Linked DNA regions of Homo sapiens: region 1 is linked to region 2. Evidence: promoter capture Hi-C in 16 types of primary human blood cells and fetal thymus (Javierre and others, 2016). All regions are on one chromosome and are shown on one strand. Each heading gives the region's core, a stretch centred on a gene start or on the middle of the fragment in contact. The rest is flanking DNA. Distances are from core to core; before and after follow the strand shown.

Region 1 (5,087 bases), core at 2,270-4,769, 1.2 Mb before region 2:
AAATCATTACTGATTTAGTTTACAAAATTTAAAAGTTAAACAGCTTCCAAATGATGTATAAAACGTAAAAAAATTAAGATCCATATCCCAAGATAAACACTGAGGAAGAGACTTCAAACATTATATAAAGCTAGAGTTAATAAATTTTTCTTAGGGCAATTATATATTATAGATGCACTGAAGCTGAAATACAGCTAAATCAAATACATTTAGCTTATCTAATATCCACATAATAAAGACTACATGTTTGCAGATCCATAAACCAGAACATAAAAACAATTCTTATGAAAGCAAAAAGCCTAAACTATGATGTAGGAGGATAAGGTTTAATTTGGGCATATATGGCTAAACTTTGTGATTAATAACTCTGTAGTTTATAGTATTTGGGATTATCCAACTTTTTTCCATACTATTTTAAAATTTTTACCATAAATGAAAACATTTTCATTCAGCAAACAAAAACTACTCTTTTCTCTTTATACTTATAGAAAGATATTTTTCTTTTTCTTTTTTGAGACGGAGTCTTGCTCTGTCGCCCAGGCTGGAATGCAGCGGCGTGATCTCAGCCCACTGCAGCCTCTGCCTCCCAGGTTCAAACAATTCTCCTGCCTCTGCCTCCCAAGTAGCTGGGACTATAGGGGCACACCACCACACCTGGCTAATTTTTATATTTTTAGTAGAGACAGCATTTCACCATGCTGGCCAGGCTGGTCTCGAACTCTGATCTCAAGTGATCTGCCTGCCTCACCCTCCCAAAGTGCTGGGATTACAGGCGCAAGCCACTGTGCCCAGCCTATTTTGCATTTTCTTAGCAAGCACAGGGTATTGTTTCCAAAACATCGATAAAATCTGCAATAATTACAAAACAGTTTCAAAGACCTTGCACTAACTCCTACCATCCATTTTGAAACTCTTTAGTGGTGATTTTCTGTTTTGTTATGTCCCACTTCTGAGCAGTAGAATTTAGGGCAGCATCTTTAAAAGAATTAAATTCCCTCCTCAGTTACATCATCATTCTCTTGGCTGCACTTCAGTTCTTGGACTTTTTTGCTGCTCTAACCGTGAACTCTTATAATTTCACTCAAAAAAAGTTGTCATATATACCAAATAACATCTTTTTCTGGTTCCAAATAGCCTTTAAACTAACTTCTACTATCAGGCTGCACCAAGTTATCTACACCAAATCCAGAACTGTCTCCCCTCAATGAGTAAGAATCTGACAGATATTACCGTCCATTTTATATTCTCAGTTATACCAAAAATTTTTCCACGATGATAGGACTTTGGTGATAAATTTGGTAAAGGGTTCCTGACCTGGCTGCAATGCCACAGCAAACCAGTAAAGAAGCTAAGTATCTAAAATTCTAATTTTTATTCTAACCAGGCTAGCAGTTTAACATATCAATTTGGTAAAATCTTTTTTGTTTGTTTGTTTGTTTGAGAAAGCATTTCACTCTTGTAGCCCAGGCTGGAGTATAATGGCGCAATCTCGGCTCACTGCAACCTCTGCCTCCTGGGATCAAGCAATTCTCCTGCCTCAGCCTCCCAAGCAGCTGGGATTACAGGTACGTGCCACCACGCCCAGCTAATTTTTTTGTACTTTTAGCAGAGAAAAGGTTTCACCATGTTGGCCAGGGTGGTCTTGAACTCCTGACCTCAAGTAAGCCACCCACCTTGGCCTCCCAAAGTGCTAGGATTACAGGTGTGAGCCATCACGCCCACCCTTTTTTTTTTTTAAGATAGGGCCTCACTCTTTACCCAGGCTGGAGTGCAGTGGCGCAATCACAGCTTACTGCAGCTTTGACCTCCTGGGCTCAGGTGATCCTCCCACCTCAGCCTCCTGAGTTCTGGGACTATAGGTGCACACCACCACACCCGGCTAATTTTTGTATTTTTAGTAGAGACGAGGTCTCACTATGTTGCTCAGGCTGGTCTCAAACTCCTGGGCTCAAGGGATCCACCCACCTCAGCTTCCCAAAGTGCTGGGATTACATGCATGAGTCACCCCACCCAGCTGGTAAAATCTTTATTTTTAAATATGCTACACTGGCAGGCTGCGGTGGTTCACGCCTGTAAACCCAACTTTGGGAGGCCAAGGGGGGTGGATGCCTTGAGCCGAGGAGTTCAAAACCAGCCTGAGCAACATAGTGAGACCTCGTCTCTACTAAAAACACAAAAAATTAGCCGAGCATGGTGGCACGCGCCTGTAATCCCAGCTACTGGGGAGGCTGAGGTGGGAGAATTGCTTGAACCCGGGAGGCGAAGGTTGCTATGAACTGACATCACGCCACTGCACCAGGCTTCGGCAACGAAGTGAGACTCTGTCTCTAAATAAATAAATAAATATGCTACATCCAAAATCTAATCAATATAATGGAAAATGAGAAACTGGCTCAAGACTTCAAACTCCATTAAATATTGTGAAAATGGATTGGATTTGCAGCCAAATTTTAATGTATGGTTTTGGAAATCTCTGGCTTTCATGCTAATATTATATTGATGGAACTGACATCAATTCCATTTAATCTCAAAGTTCCAAACTAAAACAGATTTGCAAGTATTTCCAAAAACTCAGTGACACCAGTTAACCTATAGGAAGGCCCTAAATTAGCAGAATCCATGGTTCTCACCTCCAACTAGAATTTATCTGTCAAAAATTTCAAGACAACAGAACAAGTATCAAGATAACAGATACTCATGTTACTACCTCTTGTCCTCTGCCACAACTCATAAGCTTAACTAAATGCACTTCAAAAATTTAAGACACTCACACCTGTAATCCTAGCACTTTGGGAGGCTGAGGTGGGAGGACTGCTCGAGGCCAGGAGCTCTAAACCAGCCTGGTCAACATAGCTGATACCCCATCTCTACAAAAGAAAAATTTAAAAAAATTAGCCAGGTGTGGTGGCACACGCCTATAGTCCCAGCTACTCAGAAAGCTGAGGCAGGAGGACTGCTTGAGCCCAGGAGTTCAAGGCTGCATAAGCCATGATCGCGCCACTGTATTCCAGCCTGGGAGACAGTGAGACCCTATCTTTAAAAAAAAAAAACTACCAAAAAATACTTAGACAAATATAAATATAATTCACTGCCCTGCCCCACAACACTCTTTTCTGAGGTACATATCATAAAACATTGTTTTATGGTGAAACACTGTGGTGAAACTATTATAACCAAGTTTTTCTTAGTTAATAGTCTTTTTTTTTTTTTTTTTTTGAGACGGAGTCTCGCTCTGTTGCCCAGGCTGGAGTGCAGTGGTGTGATCTCCGCTCACTGCAAGCTCCGCCTCTCGGGTTCATGCCATTCTCCTGCCTCAGCCTCCTGAGTAGCTGGGACTACAGGCGCCTGCCACGAGGCCCGGCTAATTTTTTTGTATTTTTAGTAGAGACGGGGTTTCACCGTGTTCGCCAGGATGGTCTCGATCTCCTGGCCTCGTGATCCGCCCGCCTCGGCCTCCCAAAGTGCTGAGATTACAGGCGTGAGCCACCGTGCCCGCAGTATGTTACATTCTATAGTATTGTGAGGACCCAATAACAGAACATTTCAATACGGAAACATGAAGTCACTGAACTCAGCTAAAGGTTAGGCTTCAGATCTGTGATGATGGTACTGTGTGTATGGGAGGAGGGGGTTCAGGAATATTCACATCACAGGTCTGTTACAAATCCATACCCACACATTCATATGGCAAATTACCAGGAAGCAACAGCGGTAGCATGTAAACACCAATCTGTTTTCCCAGTGTGCCTGGCCCATGCTCTCCTATTTTTAGTTAACATCTTGATTTCTCAAGGCCAAGAAAACCACAAGACCTAAAGTAAGCATCACTGTCCTGATGATATCTGTTGTCAAATGGCTTTCTCTGTTCTTGCCCTACTATTAACCCCTCAATGTGTTACATCATACCCTTAGAGCAAAACAAAAACAAGAACAAAAACTGGTTCCAAAAGAATTCCCAAAATCACATGTAAGCAAGTATTAAAGATACGGCATTTTGCAAATAAGTAACTCTTTATTTGTAAACAAATATAAATACATGAGACGTGAAAATAATCAAGGCTCTCCCCTGTCATCTCTGCAAATAAGTAAAACATTTAATCTAATCTGGGAATGAAATAGTATAGTCCTCCTCTATAACCTAAATCCCTTAAAAGAATTTTGATTAGCTCATACTGTATTTTTTCACCAAATACCACAATCATTCAAAAGAGCTTCATAGGTAATTTAGCAGAATATGCAATTGTATTCATATCTCGTATAAATCAGTTTGATGTCCAAAGAGAATCAAAGCTACAGAAGCTTTAAAATTAAAAAGTGAATTCAATCTTAGTTCATTAACAATCCACTGGCATATGAAAAATGAAGGGGGTAGAATCTGAAGACAGGAAAGATTTCCATCCATAAATTAACGGGCATGCTAGGTACACCCAACAATTAACACCATATATTACATCAGGCCTGGAAGTAAAAATCTTGAAAGAATAGCTTGTTAACATGGCATTCTTATAAAACAATAATAATACTATTCATGGAAACATCTGTGATTTAAGTTTCTCAAAAAAAGTGTTCAAATTTCAATTCTTAGAAAAGCCATGAAAATGTCTTAATCAGTAACAGCAAAGTTTTGAAGAAGTATTGAGGATCTAATGATTAACAAAATAAAAAAATGTTTATAAGCAACTGTGCAATGTGAATAAGCTTTTGCAGAAGGGGGGTTATGGTACTGAAATCAAAACTGATTTACCTAAATATGTCTGCATATTCTGCCATCGCAGTCATGATGGCTTCTTCTGCCTTAGAGAAACCGATTTTTTTTTTTTTTTTGAGACATATCACTCTGTTGCCCAGGCTGGAGTGCAGTGGTGTGATCTCAGCTCACAACCTCTGCTTCCCGGGTTCAAGAGATTCTCCTGCCTCAGCCTCCTGAGTAGCTGGGATTACAGGTGTGAGCCACCACACCTGATTAATTCTTTTTATAGTATTAGTAGAGATGGGGTTTTGCCATGTTGGCCAAGCTGGTCTTGAACTCCTGACCTCAAGTGATCTGCCTGCTTCGGCCTCCTAAAGTGGTGGGATTACAGGAGTAA
Region 2 (5,651 bases), core at 1,009-3,508:
AGTTGCTTCTGCTTTGGAGATGGATGACAGAAACTCAACACTTACTGGCATCCCCATGTATGCAATCTCATTGCCCTACCCCACACTGGGACTTGGGACCTGGCTCTCACCCAGGTGCTTTGAGATAGGAAGTGGCCTTACTCTCCACTTTACCTCCTGTTGCCCTGGGGAGGGGTAGGGCATGGTGCTCTGGCACTGCTACCCTTTCCCTTGGCCCTCTCTACCCTTCTCCCAAGAGAACTGCTAATGCTTTTCCTTTAGGGCTTCATGCCCTCCCATTCCCTAATCACCCCTACTGGGCAGTCTGGTTCCCAAAGCAGCTCTCAGGGCTGTTGGGTCAGGACAGGAGGGGAGCACTCCTGGAGAGCTCTGCCCCACCCACCCCTCAGGGAGGCAGCTTGGGAGGCTGGGACACCTCTCAGCCCCCTCCTCTGGCAGAGCGAGCCTGCTGGCGAGGGAGACCCGACTCCCAGTGGGCGTCCTGCTGTAATCAAGACTGAGTGGCAGCCTCTGGCTGAGCTCCACCCTGCCCAGTTGGGGCTGGCCTCAGCCTCAGGGGACAGCTGCCCAGGCAGGTCAGGAACCTGCCCAGCCTGTTTGTCCCCCATCAAGACAGTTATGTGCCTCTGTCCCACCAACTTGTGATGGTGGGGACAGGAGAAGGGATGGTATCTCCCTCTGCCATCCCACAAATATTTACTGAGGGTCAGGGGCTGAGTGTACAATGGTGAACAAAAGGTGCAGAGGCCCCGCTTTATTGGAGCCTACAATTCAGCGGGAAGCTAGTTTTTGTATTTTTAGTAGAGACAGGATTTCACCATGTTGGCCAGGCTGGTCTCGAACTCCTGACCTCATGATCCACCCGCCTCAGCCTCCCAAAGTGCTGGGATTACAGGTATGAGCCACCACGCCCGGCCCAGCAAATGTAGTTCTAATTAGGCACCAAGTACTATTCTAAGTGCCTTAGACCATTTAATGCTGACAGGCCTATGAGGTAGGTAATATTATTGTTCCCAGCCGGGCGAGGTGGCTCATGAAGCCACCTCTGTACTACATACATACTTCATTACTTCATGTATGTACTACATACATACTTCATTACTACAACATAATGAAGCCCCGTCTGTACTAAAAATACAAAAAAATTAGCCGAGCGTGGTGGCGCGCGCCCATAATCCCAGCTACTCGGGAGGCTGAGGCAGGAGAATCGCTTGAACCCAGGAGGTGGAGGCTGCAGTGAGCCAAGATCGCACCACTGCACTCCAGCCCGGGCAACAGCGCAAGACTCCGTCTCAAAAAAAAGATTCAGTGACTTACCCCAGGTCACAGAGCTGATCAGTGAGTTGCCTAGAAATCCAATCCAGGCAGTTTGATGCAAGTTCACGCTTAGACAGCTATGAGATAGCTCTACTGCCCCTTATACCAGTCAATGCATCACTACAAAATGTGGTAGGTGCCAGAAAATAAAAGTACGAGGGTGCCTTGCAAGAAAATGGGGATTTCCCCTTTCTTCCACTTTCTCTTCTAGCCCCCACTGCACAAAGCCTTTTCAAGTCTTCCTACTTCACCCCTTTCATTTCTGGCCGGATAGAGAATACTCTTTCATCTCTGCAGTTATGGTGCAGGAAGGCAGAGTCCTACCTGTATCCTTGCCCCTGGCCTGGTCTCCCTGATCAACCCGCGCCTGAAGGGTTTCTTTCTAATAATGGCCCTGGTGCTTGCGCAAGTCTAGACTGTCAGCTCCCAGAGGGAAGGCGGCTGGCAGCTGGCTCTGCGCAGGCTGGGGGCGCCTCCCGGGCGTGCAGCCTGGCACAGGCTCCTTGACCTTGGCTCTCTCCCCACGTGCTAGGAGCCCGGTTGGGGGCTCGGGACCCGCGTGTAGGACCCGTCCAGAGAGGTCAGTGGTCCAGACTCCTACACTCCTAACACATGCACCCTCGCATGCACGTTCCCGAGCCCGCGCGGGGTCCGCCCCGGGACAAGCCCATAAGTCGCGAACCTTCCAGCTCCGTCTGCCCAGACAGGTGGCCCGGAGCGGGGACCCCCTCCCCTCGGCTGCCCCGCGCGCCTGGCCCAGCGAGGGCGGCTCCGGGGCGGGGCGGGGCCGGCGGCGGGAGGCCCCTCCCCGGGGGCGGGCCGGGGGCCGGGCGGGGGGGGGGACTGGCGGGGCCTGGGGGCGGGGCGGGGCGGGCGGCGCGGGGGTGTCCCTCCCTCCCTCGCTCTCCCCGGTAAAGTCTCGCGGTGCTGCCGGGCTCAGCCCCGTCTCCTCCTCTTGCTCCCTCGGCCGGGCGGCGGTGACTGTGCACCGACGTCGGCGCGGGCTGCACCGCCGCGTCCGCCCGCCCGCCAGCATGGCCACCACCGCCACCTGCACCCGTTTCACCGACGACTACCAGCTCTTCGAGGAGCTTGGCAAGTACGGCCCGCCCGCCGCGGTCCCCTGCCTGCCCTGCCGCCCGGGAGCTATGCGGCTTCTCGCCCCGCCCCCCGGCCCTGCACCGGCCGCTGCGGCTCCCCCTCGGCCGCCCCACCCCCGCCTTTCCCGCCCGCCGCCTTCGGTCCCCGCGCCCCCCGCGCACTGCCCCGCATCCCCCTCCGCGCCCTGCAGCAACTGGCGGGGCCGCTGCTCCCCACGCGCCGCCGCGGACACCGCAGACCCCGGACCGCTCCCGGGTGCCCTCCAGCCCCGCCCCTCCGCACCCTTCAGGCGCCCCCCTCCCGACCACCTCCCAACGCTGCCCGGTTGCTCACTCCGCACCCTGAACCCAGGTCCCACGCGCCTCGCACTCAGGACCCTCCCCAGCCCTGCAGCCCTAGCTCTGCTGCGGAGCCCGGGCGTGGGGGGGCTGTTTGGCGCCCGGCCCCGCCCCCCGCGGGTGCCGCTCCAGGCTCCCAGCCCCGCGGCTGGGCAGTGCTGCGGCACCCCCGTCCCCTCCCCCCACCCCTGCAGTGGTCCCGGGAGCCGCGCCGCAGCCTCAGCATCCCCCTCCCCTCCGCACTGAGCTGGCCGCTGCAGCAGCCCCGGCCCCCCACCCCCACCCGCGGCGCCGAGCCCGGCCACTGCAGCCCCCGCCCCGCCCGCCCCCCCAGACGTTTCCAGAGCTCAGAGTGCGAGCTCCCGTTTGACGGGGACGTCAAGGAAAATAGCATGGGAAGGGGAGTTCTTGATGTCTGACTGTGTCCTCTCTTCCCTTGCTGTCAGTTGAGCCGGGATGCAGTGAGATGAAACCGGCTGTGGGGGGGTTTGAGCCTCACTTTGCCCCATGGTTGAGGGAGATTTCTCTTTCAGGGGATGATACCCTCTTTTTAATCTTTCCTTCCCCGACCTTCAACTGTTCCTGCTGAGAGAAGGGCAGGGTCTCTCTGCTCCCTTCTGCCCTGGTTCTCTTGGCCGGGACCGCAGGGCTGTCTGAGATGCAGCAGGTGTGTGTTTTCAGCATCGCCCACCCGCTCCTGATGTGCAGCCTGAGGTGGAGGCTGTTGCCTTGCCCAGGGACTGGATGAGGGGGTGGGAGCGCGGCACGCCACCCACATCTGTTCAGTGTCCTGCGGTGGCCGCGTCCTTTTGCCTCATGTTGGATGGTGGTGGTCACAGCGCCGGTGTGTGTGCATGTACGTGAGTGTGACTAGAGGTCTGGTGGTGGGAGCATCATCGTCCCCAGACTTGAAGTGTGTCTGTGTCACTCTGCCCTGCTCCGTGTCCCAGTTCTTTTCCCCTTCTCCCTCCAGGGGTGCTTTCTCTGTGGTCCGCAGGTGTGTGAAGAAAACCTCCACGCAGGAGTACGCAGCAAAAATCATCAATACCAAGAAGTTGTCTGCCCGGGGTGAGTGTTCCCTGTCTTGACCTCTTCCTGAGGGTGCCTCCAGGGGCCATGGTTTCTTTTGAGGAAGCCCCAGGAATTGGGGGTTGTGCGTTTTAGCACTTGGAGAGGAGTTGGAATTTCAGACTGGTTGGACTTTGTGTCAGGCTGAAGCCAGAAAAGGAGTTGCATGGGGGACTGGAAGCGCCCAGGTACAAAAGAATGAAGGAAGAGATGCAAGTAGCTGCAGTGGCCCCCAAAGGCTCAAGGGAGTTCGGTCTTCAGGGAGGTGGAGGATATGGGGGTAGTGGGTGGTACAGAATGGGGAGCTCTTAATTTGGGGCATTTGGAGCCTCTCCCTTTGGGGCAGTGGTGGCTACTGCAGGCCTTTCCTGGTCCCTGTGCCCCAGTGGTGACTTAGGATGGAAATGCAGTAAGTGAGCAGCTCTGACAAAGCCAGCCTCCCCTGCCCACCAGGCGGCAGAACAGACTCCCAAGGGAAGGGAATCTGTAAACATCAGGGGAGGCTGCTACTGGCGAGGGCTTCTCAGGAACAAATTCTGCCAGATGAACTTGATTGCTTTTTTGATCAAATTACAAAGTTGGTGGTGCAGCAGCAGATGTAGTCTGTCCTGGGTGGAGGGTGATGCCTCATGGTCTAGAAATCCCAAAGGCCCGGTTTGGGCAGGAACTGCACTGCCTCCGAGTCTGAGGAGCATAAAGGCCAAGGCCTTGGGGCCTCACTTGCGAGATCCTCCCAAGTACCTGAGGCTTGGAGGGTCAGGGCCTGTCTTTCACACCTTGAACCTACACTCTCTGAACTTCCTATTGGGTACTTGCCAAACTCACCTCATCTGATAGGTGTAGACCCAGCAATGTGTGAAGTGCTCTGGGAACAGGTCTGGTGAGTACAGAGGTCAGATCTCGGAGGGCTGCAGGGTGCAGCTGGGGGACAAAGGTTGTGAAACTCAGAGAAAGGAATTAGGGCTGGGCAGTAGGATGCCATAAATATATTAGGAGCCAGGACACATGCCCTGGGGAAGACATGGGCTTTGGCCAATAATGACACGGGTTTCTCTGGGATAAGAGACATAATAGATGTCCCAAATGCTTAGAGAAGCTCTACAATTCCACGGGCTTCTGTCGTGTTGGCAGTTGTTCTGGGACCTGTTTAGCAGGGCCGTGTCCACTCCCTGACTGGGGACTCTCTCTCCATCCCTCTAGTAGGGCACTAATTGCTGACTCCCATCCAGCTCCATCTCTTGCTGTTCGTGTACATTGCCTATAAAGTTGGACTTGTTTGTTTTCTTTCTCTCTGGGTACCTTGAGTCTGAGGATGGTTGCCATAGAGATATGTGGGCAGTCAGATACCCTGGAGTGGGGGTGGGGGGGACAACAGGGGCTGGGCTCTCTGGCAGACATCCTCTGGCCAAGGATGGAAGGTGCAGGCAGGAACAATGGCTTGAGGCTGGATACCTCTCTTGCCCACACAGCAGAGCCCTGGTGCATCAGAAACAGGGCTGGCATCTGGTGTCTCCAGTTGATGATGCAATGCTTTGCTCTCTTCATCTCACCAGTGTCCTCTGACCCATGGGTAAGAGAAGGAGAGATGGCTGGGAGCCGAATTCTGGGATGTGAGGATAGGTGATGTGGTGACTTCCTGCAGCTGCCTGACTGGGGCTTTCATTTCCTACTCCTTCCCTACCTGCGTAAATTTCCATGACCTGTGTGATAGCCTCCCTTTCCCTTCCTCACCTCCTTTTAACCTTGTCCCATCTTTCCCAATGGATATCTTTCCCTGGCCAAACTGGATGAGACTTGATTTCTCGTTGATTTTTTTTTTTTTCCCCT

Evidence for each region. The method cuts DNA at HindIII sites, captures the fragments that hold promoters and counts their contacts. A CHiCAGO score of 5 or more calls a contact.
Region 1: a fragment that was not itself captured here is called in contact with the fragment with the promoter of CAMK2G in region 2 in 1 of 17 cell types (fetal thymus); the score reaches 6.4 in fetal thymus.

The regions. Positions count from the first base shown.
Region 1 is chr10:75,114,070-75,119,156 of GRCh38, reverse strand. All of the region lies in intron 1 of SAMD8 (sterile alpha motif domain containing 8), which reads right to left. Among named protein-coding and RNA genes, the nearest start is that of SAMD8, 5.0 kb to the right of the region's middle. The HindIII fragment of the contact is 1,565 bases long and covers 2,737-4,301 here.
Region 2 is chr10:73,871,162-73,876,812 of GRCh38, reverse strand. CAMK2G (calcium/calmodulin dependent protein kinase II gamma) reads left to right here and starts at 2,258. Exons shown (of 23, transcript NM_001367534.1): 1 at 2,258-2,416; 2 at 3,730-3,824. The coding sequence starts at 2,352. RefSeq lists an enhancer at 1,536-1,645 and silencers at 1,866-2,145, 2,156-2,315, 2,376-2,545, 2,806-2,865. The HindIII fragment of the contact is 9,701 bases long and covers 1-5,651 here.